3 separate regions of the Homo sapiens genome follow, and regions 2 and 3 are each linked to region 1. The links are contacts of gene promoters, found by promoter capture Hi-C in blood cells and fetal thymus (Javierre and others, 2016). All regions are on one chromosome and are shown on one strand. The core of a region is centred on a gene start or on the middle of the fragment in contact, and the rest is flanking DNA. Distances in the headings are between cores, read along the strand shown.

Region 1 (3,051 bases), core at 321-2,820:
GTTTCAAACTGGGCACGCTCTATGCCTCTCATACTCATTATGACCACATTTTCTAAAGACAAAACTGCACAGACAGCCTGAAAAAGTATTTTTTCTGTCTTGTTACTTTCTTTAATAACGTCTTAGCCAGTTTAGAATCAAATCACATGTATTTACTCTTCTCACGTGATACCAGGACTGTTCTGAAAGTTCAGGCCAAGGGTCACCACATTGACACGATTTCCTTAGTTATAATCATTTGCATACTTGTCCTACCTCCATACCAAGAGAAGGTACTCTGAGTTAGAGTTCAAATCCCACACATCCTTGTCATTCCCACAGTGCCCAGCATGCTGCTGCCAGCAGGTGCTCAGTAAATCCTTACTGAACTCATGCAAAGGGGACAGACGCCACCTCAGCCCAACACCAAGATTGTCCTCCCTCCCTCCCGCACCCCTTCCCTTCCTCCCTTGCTTCCCATCTTTCAATAAATGCAGTTTGAATGCATTTGTCACACAAAGCTTTAGGCTCAGAGAAGCTGTGGGACTCCATGCACTTCACCTGTGGCCTTGAGGCACCGCAGTCCAGCCAGGAAGACAGACACCAGGCAAATCCTCCCACCTATGCCCAGTCAATTAGGAATATGAGCACCTGATCCAGTGATGGGCAGGGCAGCATCCACTTTAGATGCACGGGGTGCTGGGAAAGCTGCCCTGAGAAAGTGACCGCAGGCTGAGGCCTGGGGCAGAGAGAACGTGGGCAGGGGCTCGAGGCAGGGAAGAGCTTGGAGACTTCCAGGAACTGCCAGACAGCCAGGGGCAGTGGGGCAAGGGAGAGAAGAAGCCAGAGAGGCCGCAGGCCTGGGCTTTCCATGGCGAGGAGGCCTGGATACTGCATAAGTGCAGCAGGAAATGTTGGGTGGGGTCGGATTTTCACTTTACAAGGGCAGTCGCTGGGGCAGAGGGCATGGGACTCAGGGAGGGACTCAGGAGGCAGAGAGATGGTGGGACGAGACTGAGGGTGCCGGCTGGGGCTGGGGGTAGAGGACTGTGAGCGCTTGGCACTTGGAGGCAGTCAGAGCTGGTCTGGGCAGGGGTGCTGTCACCCAGGGCCGAGGAAAGGGATACAGGAGGGGCAGAGGGTGGGTCGGAGGCTGTCCTGGGAACCCTAAACGTGGGGGCCAGGAGAAGGAGGTGCTCCCGTTTCTGATCTGTACCAATTAAGGGGAAGGTGAGAAATTGCTTGGGTGGAGTGTCCTTCTCTGAGTCTGGGGGTTAGGTGGGATGAGGGGACCTCGGAGGCTGGAGGCCAGAGTTCACACTCCTGCCCTGCTGTGTGACCTAAGGCTGAGAGCTGCCTCTCTCTGGGCCCAGATGCATCATTACCTATTCAGCAAGCAGCTGGGCCTGAGAGCCTCCGAGATCCCTTGCAGGTCTGCTGGTCTCGGCTGCCTTTCCTTGGTCTGCCCTCATGCTGTCTTCCCAGAAGCCAGGGGCCCAGTTTGCTTCCCCTGCTTGTCCTGTGGGCACTTGCGACTCCCGGGGAGGCAGCAGACACGGTCCAGCGTGGTCACGCTCCTGGCCGCGACTTCACCTCCCTCCTGCAGCACAAGTCTCGAGGAGGCTGGGGAGGTGCGCGCACTGCCCTCTGGTGGCAACTTCTGGGCCCACCTGTCATTGTGCCCTGCTGTTTTCTAACTCAATTATTCTTGAAGGGATGATTGAGCGCCTTTTGCATGCAAAGTCCCGAGGTAGGCATGAAGTAGTTGGGCAGTCCAGATGGGGGAGAAGGTGTCGTGGATGTGGAGCCCAGGGTGTCACTCTACGCGCTCCCGATCCCTCCCAAGGCCTAGGCGTCCTCCCTCCACCGCGGGAACGGAGCAGGGGTGGCACAGAACTCTGGTGGCTGCAATGAGGGTTCAACGGTTGAATGCGTGGAGTGCATCTTAGCTTCACTTCTGGCCCAGGAAGCGCAGGCTCCGTGTACAACACACGCAGCGGTGCAGTGCCTTCAAAGGGGGCGTGTGGCTGTGTGTGTGGATGTGCCAGTTTTGGGCTTCCTCTCGGCAGGAGGTGGGGGGGCGGGGAGGCTCTGGCGCTGAGTGCCCCCTTTCCATTGCGGTCCTTTGGTGCAGTTGAGGGTCCCCCCAGTAGCAGGGGCATTTCCAAGGAGCCAGGACTTCAAGGGCCTAAGGCTGGAGGGGCCCTGTCCAGTGCAACAGAGAGACCTTGAGCATGGGCGGTGAGGTCACCTCTCCTGGCCCAGCTATCAGCTGAGCTGGATGTGCATGGCTCAGGTTTGCACAAAGGAGGCCCACCTGTTCACAGGAGTTCTGGAAAGAACACACCTGTGGCAAAGACACACACACGTGCACACCAGACAGGCCATGATCTCGCTCCCCTGGCGAGGAATGACTTCCTTGCCGTAGGGAGAATTCAGGGGAGTCTGGCCCTCTTGAGGAGATGCTGTAGAGGGGAGTTGTGGACGGTTGGATTCAGGATGTTTTCAGCTCCAAGTGTCTGCTTTAGGCCGGTCTGCACCTGTGTCCTCCCCGCCTCTGTCCTTCTGGCACTTGCCCTGGGTAGGCCTGGCTCAAAGCCCTCTTCTCCCCTCCTCCCCCAACCCCACAAACAATAATAAAATTAAATTAAATTAAATTAAATTAAATTTTTAAAAAAAGCCCTCTTCTCCATGAAGCCTGCCCTGAAGAGGCAGCTGCCCAGGAGCATCTGCACATCTCATACAAACTTTAGCTGTGATTATATTGCATTCGTTCCCATGCCTATTTCCTGTCCCTGCAGCTAAACTCTGGGCTCCTTGAGGGCTGGGTGGAGTCTTGGGCATCTTTTGTGGCTGCTATAACTCCCAGCCCTGAGCCAGGATAATACAGACGCTTGACAAACGCTCCATGCTGACTGGCAGGTGTTCCTACCTTCCATGCCTGGGAAAATCATGATTCAGACTCTCCCTGGAGAGGCCACGGTCAGAGAAACATTAGGAAGGACAGAGTGGGTTCTGGAAGGCCAGAGGCACACGGCCAGAGCAGGCACAGATGCGGCCAGCCATAGCTCA
Region 2 (3,051 bases), core at 360-2,859, 110 kb after region 1:
TCCCAGGGTTGTCCTGGTGGCACGCCCCTGTCCCCAGCGCACCTGCTCGAAGCGCCAGCCATCAGACATGGTGGAGACCATTTGCGTGAGCTCCTCCTCCTGGCACTGCAGCACGCGGTACACGTGCTTGGGTGGGACCTGTGGGCAGAAGGGTCACATAGAGGGCACCTGTGGGAGCACCAGGCACCCCAGGAGGGGCATGAGCACCTGCTGCCACCACCCCCGCAACATACCCAAAGAAGAAGAGAGGGAGAGAAAGAAGAGGTGGTTGGGGGGAGGCAGCCATGCTCTGAGCACCTGCTCCTCACCAGGCATTTACCAGGCACCATCTCACTTAATCCTTCCAAGAATCCTAGGCATTACGGGACTTTCCATTGAGGCTCAGAGAGGTCCAGTTACTTGCCCAAGGTCACCCAGCTCAAGGGTGAAGGAGACAGAACCGGAACACGGGTAATTCAAGAAAGAACATGGGTGGGGCTTAGGGAACATTCTGGGTCACCCTCAAGGAGTCAGGCCCTCAAGGAGACACGGAGCCTCCCCTCTTTAATCCCCTGGGCCTGAGAAATGGTTCCTCACTACCTGTCCCCCAACCCTCACACATCCCCCAGAGTAGGCGGAAAATCTCTTTCCCTCCTCCTGCAGACTGGCCAGGGAGGCCCAGGCTCCAAGGTCACAAACGCCAGCCCCAACAGCCTGTGCCGAGCCCACCAGGCGACCATCTGATGCCACAAAAGGCACAATTTGCTAATCCTGCATTTTCCTCTGCAGGGCACCCTGTACCTCCACACTGACCCCCTTCTGCCTATGAGGAAGGGATGGGTGTGCCATTCCCACCCCTCTCTATCCCATAAGAGAAAATCAAGGTCCGGAGAGGGCGAGCCTGGCCCAACACACAGCAAATGGGGCTGAGACAGGGACTGAACCCCAGTGTCCGTCTCCGAGTCTGGGGCTGTGCTGGGCAGCCTGTCAGCCCAACCATGCCTCTCCTTACAGGCCAGCTCGGCCTCCCCATGACAAACACTGGTCCTGTCTCTCCCAACCTCCTCTGCTTCCCGCCCCGTCTCTCAGCCTCTCTCTCCCCACTGGCCCCTGCCCTGGCCGTGTGTGCTGCCCCTGCTCCCGACCTGGGTGACCGTGTAGTCCTTCTCTTCCATCCGGTCTTTGATGATGCGGATCAGCGGGCCGATGTTGTAGAACTCGGCTTCCTCCAGGACCCCTGGCACAGACAGAACAGATCCCAGGTCACTCCTTCTGCCTCCATGCCCCATTCTCCTCTTGTTCCCTCCACCCCGAAACCCACCTCTCGCTCTGATCACCCGCCCTGAGGGTGAGCTGAGTGTCTGTGAGTTCAGGGGTCAAGTAAGAGGGAGCATTTCTTTCCTTGGATCCCACACTTCCTGTGGAAGGGGCTGAGGGGCTGCCACACAGCTCTGCTGTGCTGAGTGCGGTGACCCAGGGGTACCTGCCAGGCCACCGTCTGGGGCAGCTTTAGGGCTATCAAGAGACAGCAGGGTCATTGGGACTGATCCCCAGAATGTCACCATGAGCAGGGCCTTGCCTGACCCCTGATTATGTGCTCCTATTTATTAAGCACATTCTAAGTGCCAGGTGCATTACATTTTTGAATTCTCAGAACTAGAAGGAGGTACTTTCATCATCTGCATTGAACAACTGGGAAAACTGAGGCTCCCAAAGAGAAGCAGCTTGTCCAAGGTCACACAGCTGGTAAGTGCCAGAGGGAACTCAAGCGCTGCAGACTCCAGAGCCCATGTCTCCCCACTGTAAGCACATACCCTTGTGTCCATGCATTCCCCCAACTGCCTCACCTTACAGTTTGCAACACCCTGCACGAGCTCATCACAAGTCCAGGGATATGAGGAGAGCAGGCATTACTGTCCCCATCTTACAGTTAAGTTAATCTGGGAGATGAAGAAGTCAGCCCACCAGTGAAGCGATGAGCTTGCAGCTGTTTCGACTCCCCTAGGCTCCCAGAAGGCAGGGGACCTTTGGGCCCTTTCCTTGACTGGCCTCTGGGCTCCCTGGGGACAGAGCTCATTATGAGCAGAATGTGTGTGTTCCCCAAAAATCCACCTGCTGAAAACTGTGATGGGATTAGGAGGGGAGGTAATGAGATCATGGGGGTAGAGTCCCCAGGGTAGGATCAGTCTTCTTATAAGAAAGGCTAATTGGATGTGAGGGCGATCTGGCGGGGACATCTGTCACTCCACTGATCACCAGGGTTGATTTAGCTGATCTGGCTGGCTAGATGTGTGTCCCCTTCCTCCCTCACTGCTCCAGGTGTGTCCCTCCCGAAGCTGTGAGCTCCATCGAAGGGGGCGACCACCCCCGATAGAGGAGGACCGGACTTTGGTCAAGGGTATGTGAGTAGCTGCGCTCCCCTGCTAGAACCTCCAAACAAGCTCTCGAGAAGGGGCGGGCGAGGGCTAGCTCCCTCTCTTTCTGCCATGTGAGGACACAACGAGAAGTCAGCAGTCTGCAATCCGGAAGAAAGTCCTCACCAGAACCTGCCACAGTGCCCCGATCTCGGGTTTCTAGCCTCTAGGACCAAGAGAAATAAATTTCTGATTTTCATAAGCCACCCAATCTATGTTACTTCATGATTGCAGCCTGAAATGGCTAAGATGGGGCTCACATTTCTGATCTGCCCTCTGTCCCCGGTGCCCACACAGGACCAAACACAGAGCAGGAGGTCAGGGAGTGCAGCTGCCTGATTACGAGAATTATCCCCAGTGCCCTGGGCGGAGCCCTGCAGGTGACAGACAGCTAGCACTGCATCCCACATCCTCCGGCCAGGAACTGAGCTCCATGCTGCACTATTAACTCCTTTTATCCTCATGACAGCTCGGTGAGGTGGGTGCTATGGTCCCCCATTTCACAGATGGGGGCATGCAGACACAGAGGGGTTAGGTCACTTTCTCAGTGTCACACAGCTAGTAAGTCTCCTCTCAGATCCCCTATCCCCTGGATGAGCCCTAGCCCTGTGTATCCCCTAGCCCCCGGATAGCCCTGCGTGATCCCCTAGCCCCCGGA
Region 3 (3,051 bases), core at 1-2,500, 110 kb before region 1:
GATGCGTCACCTTGACTGTAACAGGCTCCTTCCTGCTTGCCCCGCCCAGCCCTGTGTGGGGAGGAAGTCAGTCCTGGCCCACGGGGGTCTCGTGTGCAGGCTTTTGACAAAACAGCACTTCCTAAAAACTGGCAGAGTTTTGAGCAGCAGGGACTTTTGCCAGGGAGGGACAGAGGTGGAAACAAACAAACAAACAAACAAACAAACAGATGAAGTGAGGGGAGGGCCAGATAAAAAAGAGAAAGACAGTGAGACAGAAAGAAACACACAGACACATATGCACATACACACGTACACATGCACAGACACCGAGGGCGATGTTCACTGAGGACGAACATTTTCCAGGGGACCATGGGCATTCACGTGGCAGCCTCCTCACATATATGCCATAGGAGCGCCCAACTTGGACAGTCCTAGCAGGGCCCCCTGTGTTCCACCCCACAAGCTCTCTTCCAACTCCCACTTGAGAAGAGACAAATGAATTCACTGCTAGGAAGGGCTTTGCTTCCCTTCAAAGAAATATCTGGCTTTTTCTTGTCTAGTGAACAATCGGGTAATATGTTCCACTTTCCTTCTCCCCCAGGCTGCTGGGAAACTCATCGTCAAATCCAAAGCTCATCGACAGCTATTCTATGATGTCATGTGAACTTTGGGGCCTGACTCAGCTGTTTGACTCTCAGCTAGGGCTAGTCAGCCTCGCTTTGCTTATCTCTGAAAGGGGAATAACACTAACTCGGGGATATGGAAACCATGGAGTGAGAGGATGTGTCGGAGATGCTTGGGACATAGTAGGTGCTCAATAAACACTTTCTCCTTTGATTTTAATTATCTTCTTTGGTTAAAATGTATCATGTTATTCCTTGTGCCTTTTCTGGCAGGTTGGTTCAAATCCTTTCTGCAAAAAGCTTTGCTGTAAAGAAACAGGTATAAATTAAATGTGAATTCCCTATAACTTCAGGACACATGCAGAGTTATTCATCTGTTTCCCCATTACTCTCCAGGCCCCATGAGGGCAAGGTTACCTTTTGTGTTCTGGTGTGTGGTAAAATGCTGGGGACATAGAGGGTGTGCAAGTGTGGAATGAATGAACAAATGAATGAATGAATGAATGAATGAAGGGAACATGGAAGAGATCACGGCCGATGTGAAAGCTAGCTACAAGTTCACCTCCTTTTCACTATGCCGCCGCTTCTGCTGTCAAGGGGCGAAGTCCATTTCTCCTTCCTTGGAAGCTGAGCTGGCCTTGGGCATCTCTTTGACCAATAGCACGTGGCAGAAATGATGTGCCGTGATGTTCGAGGCTGAGCTTTAAAAGGCCTTGCAGCTCCTGCTCTTGCTCTCAGCCCCCTGCCTGGCTACCATGAGAACAAGCCTGGGCTAGCCTGTTGGAAGACGGAGGACCACAAGGAGATAGGCTGGGCTGTCTTGGCTGTCCCCTGGTTGCTGCCTCATCAGTGAGGCCAGGGGACACCAGAAGAAGAACCATCAAGCGGAGTCCCACCCAAACTGCTGACCCATAGCACTGTGGGAAATAATACATTTTTGTGGTTTAAGCCACCAACTTCTGGGATGCTTTGTTATGCAGCCAAAGCTTGCTGATACAGAAGAAATCCAATGCTGTCATTTCCTCGGAGAGAAAACTGAGGCTTATTTCTGGGAAACACTTGACCAAGTTGGAACTTGAGTGAGTGCCAATTCAGGCCCAGAAGCCAGGCCTACTAAGTCCCCGTCTAGTGTGCTCAGGATTTTTGAACCCCGCTGCTTCTCCCCTGCCCTGCCTCCACCTGGGTTCTTGTATAACTCATGGTTCTTTTCTGGAAAACTTGTTACAATTATTTCCATGGTAAACTAGATTTTTCTCAACTGCTTTGGGCCTGAGGCACCACAAACCATGCCCTTGGCCATTTTAAAACTAGAAATGTGGGCTGGGCATAGTGGCTCATGCCTGTAATCCCAGCACTTTGGGAGGCCGAGGCGGGTGGATCACAAGGTCAGGAGATCAAGACCATCCTGGCCAACGTGGTGAAACCCCGTCTATACTAAAAATACAAAAATTAGCTGGGCATGGTGGCGGGTGCCTATAATGCCAGCTACTTGGGAGGCTGAAGCGGGAGAATCACTTGAACCAGAGAGTCGGAGGTTGCAGTGAGCTGAGATCGCGCCACTGCACTCCAGCCTGGCAACAGAGTGAGACTCCGTCTCCAAAAACAAAACAAAAGAAAAAACAAAACAAACAAAATAACCCCTAGAAATATGGAGAAAGGTATATATAATTCCCTGTGCAGAAAGACTTCACACTGCAGGCCGGAGACTGCTATCTTTAGAAAGTCATGCTTGCAAAGTTGACCCTTGGCTGGCACCTGGGAGCTTGGATTTGGGGAGGGCTCCCACCACCCTAACTGATGAGAGTGGCTTACTGGGCCTAACCTATTTGCCTAGCGTCCCTGGCAGCATCCCATCTCACAGGTGCTTTCACGACTTGTTGCTGGAGGAATTGAGCGTGTCCCGTGTGACTCTTTTGGGAGCAGACTCTTGGAAGCTGCCCCTGGTTTCCTCTGGACTTCGCCACGGCGCCTTTGCGGATTCTGCTTTGAGTCCTTTCACTGCCATAGATCATAGCCGTAAGTATGACCATGAGCTGAGTCCTGGGAGTCCACCTAGTAAACCACTGAACCTGGGATGGCCTTGGGGAAGGCTGCCTGATCTTGCGGCTGATCCAGTAAATGTGTCTTGACCAGGCCACGGTTTGGCATCTGACACTTCCCTTTTGTCTGATGGATGGTCACGGTTGTGTGGTTCAGCTATTGTTACTGTCTTATTCTCTAAGACATACCTCAAATACCACCTCCTCTGTGAGGTCCGTTGTGATGACACCTCCCCTCCCTCTTTCCCACAACGCTGGTCATGTTTAACGGCTTATATGCAGACAGCCTGGGAGGGAGGGACTCTTTCACTGTGAGCAGCAAAGAGTTTAGCAGAACTGACTTCATCATTTTCTCCGTCACTCCTTGTCCAGGTTTGGCTGCAAGATTTGCTGGGAACCAATAGCAC

What was found. The method cuts DNA at HindIII sites, captures the fragments that hold promoters and counts their contacts. A CHiCAGO score of 5 or more calls a contact.
Region 2: a contact is called between a fragment that was not itself captured here and the fragment with the promoter of IL2RB-AS1 in region 1, in 8 of 17 cell types (activated CD4 T cells, total CD8 T cells, M1 macrophages and 5 more). The highest score is 10.4, in activated CD4 T cells.
Region 3: a fragment that was not itself captured here is called in contact with the fragment with the promoter of IL2RB-AS1 in region 1 in 1 of 17 cell types (total CD8 T cells); the score reaches 5.3 in total CD8 T cells.

Annotation. Positions count from the first base shown.
Region 1 is chr22:37,165,278-37,168,328 of GRCh38, reverse strand. It overlaps IL2RB-AS1 (IL2RB and C1QTNF6 antisense RNA 1), which reads right to left and starts at 1,570. Exons shown (of 2, transcript NR_199008.1): 1 at 1,365-1,570. It also overlaps a transcript of IL2RB not described here. RefSeq lists enhancers at 1-35, 1,350-1,399. The HindIII fragment of the contact is 5,870 bases long and covers 503-3,051 here.
Region 2 is chr22:37,054,485-37,057,535 of GRCh38, reverse strand. It overlaps KCTD17 (potassium channel tetramerization domain containing 17), which reads right to left. Exons shown (of 9, transcript NM_001282684.2): 3 at 1,125-1,216; 4 at 43-138. It also overlaps the pseudogene RN7SKP214. Among named protein-coding and RNA genes, the nearest start is that of KCTD17, 4.3 kb to the right of the region's middle. The HindIII fragment of the contact is 5,049 bases long and covers 1-3,051 here.
Region 3 is chr22:37,279,441-37,282,491 of GRCh38, reverse strand. No RefSeq gene overlaps it. Among named protein-coding and RNA genes, the nearest start is that of CYTH4, 1.5 kb to the left of the region's middle. RefSeq lists an enhancer at 176-225. The HindIII fragment of the contact is 686 bases long and covers 908-1,593 here.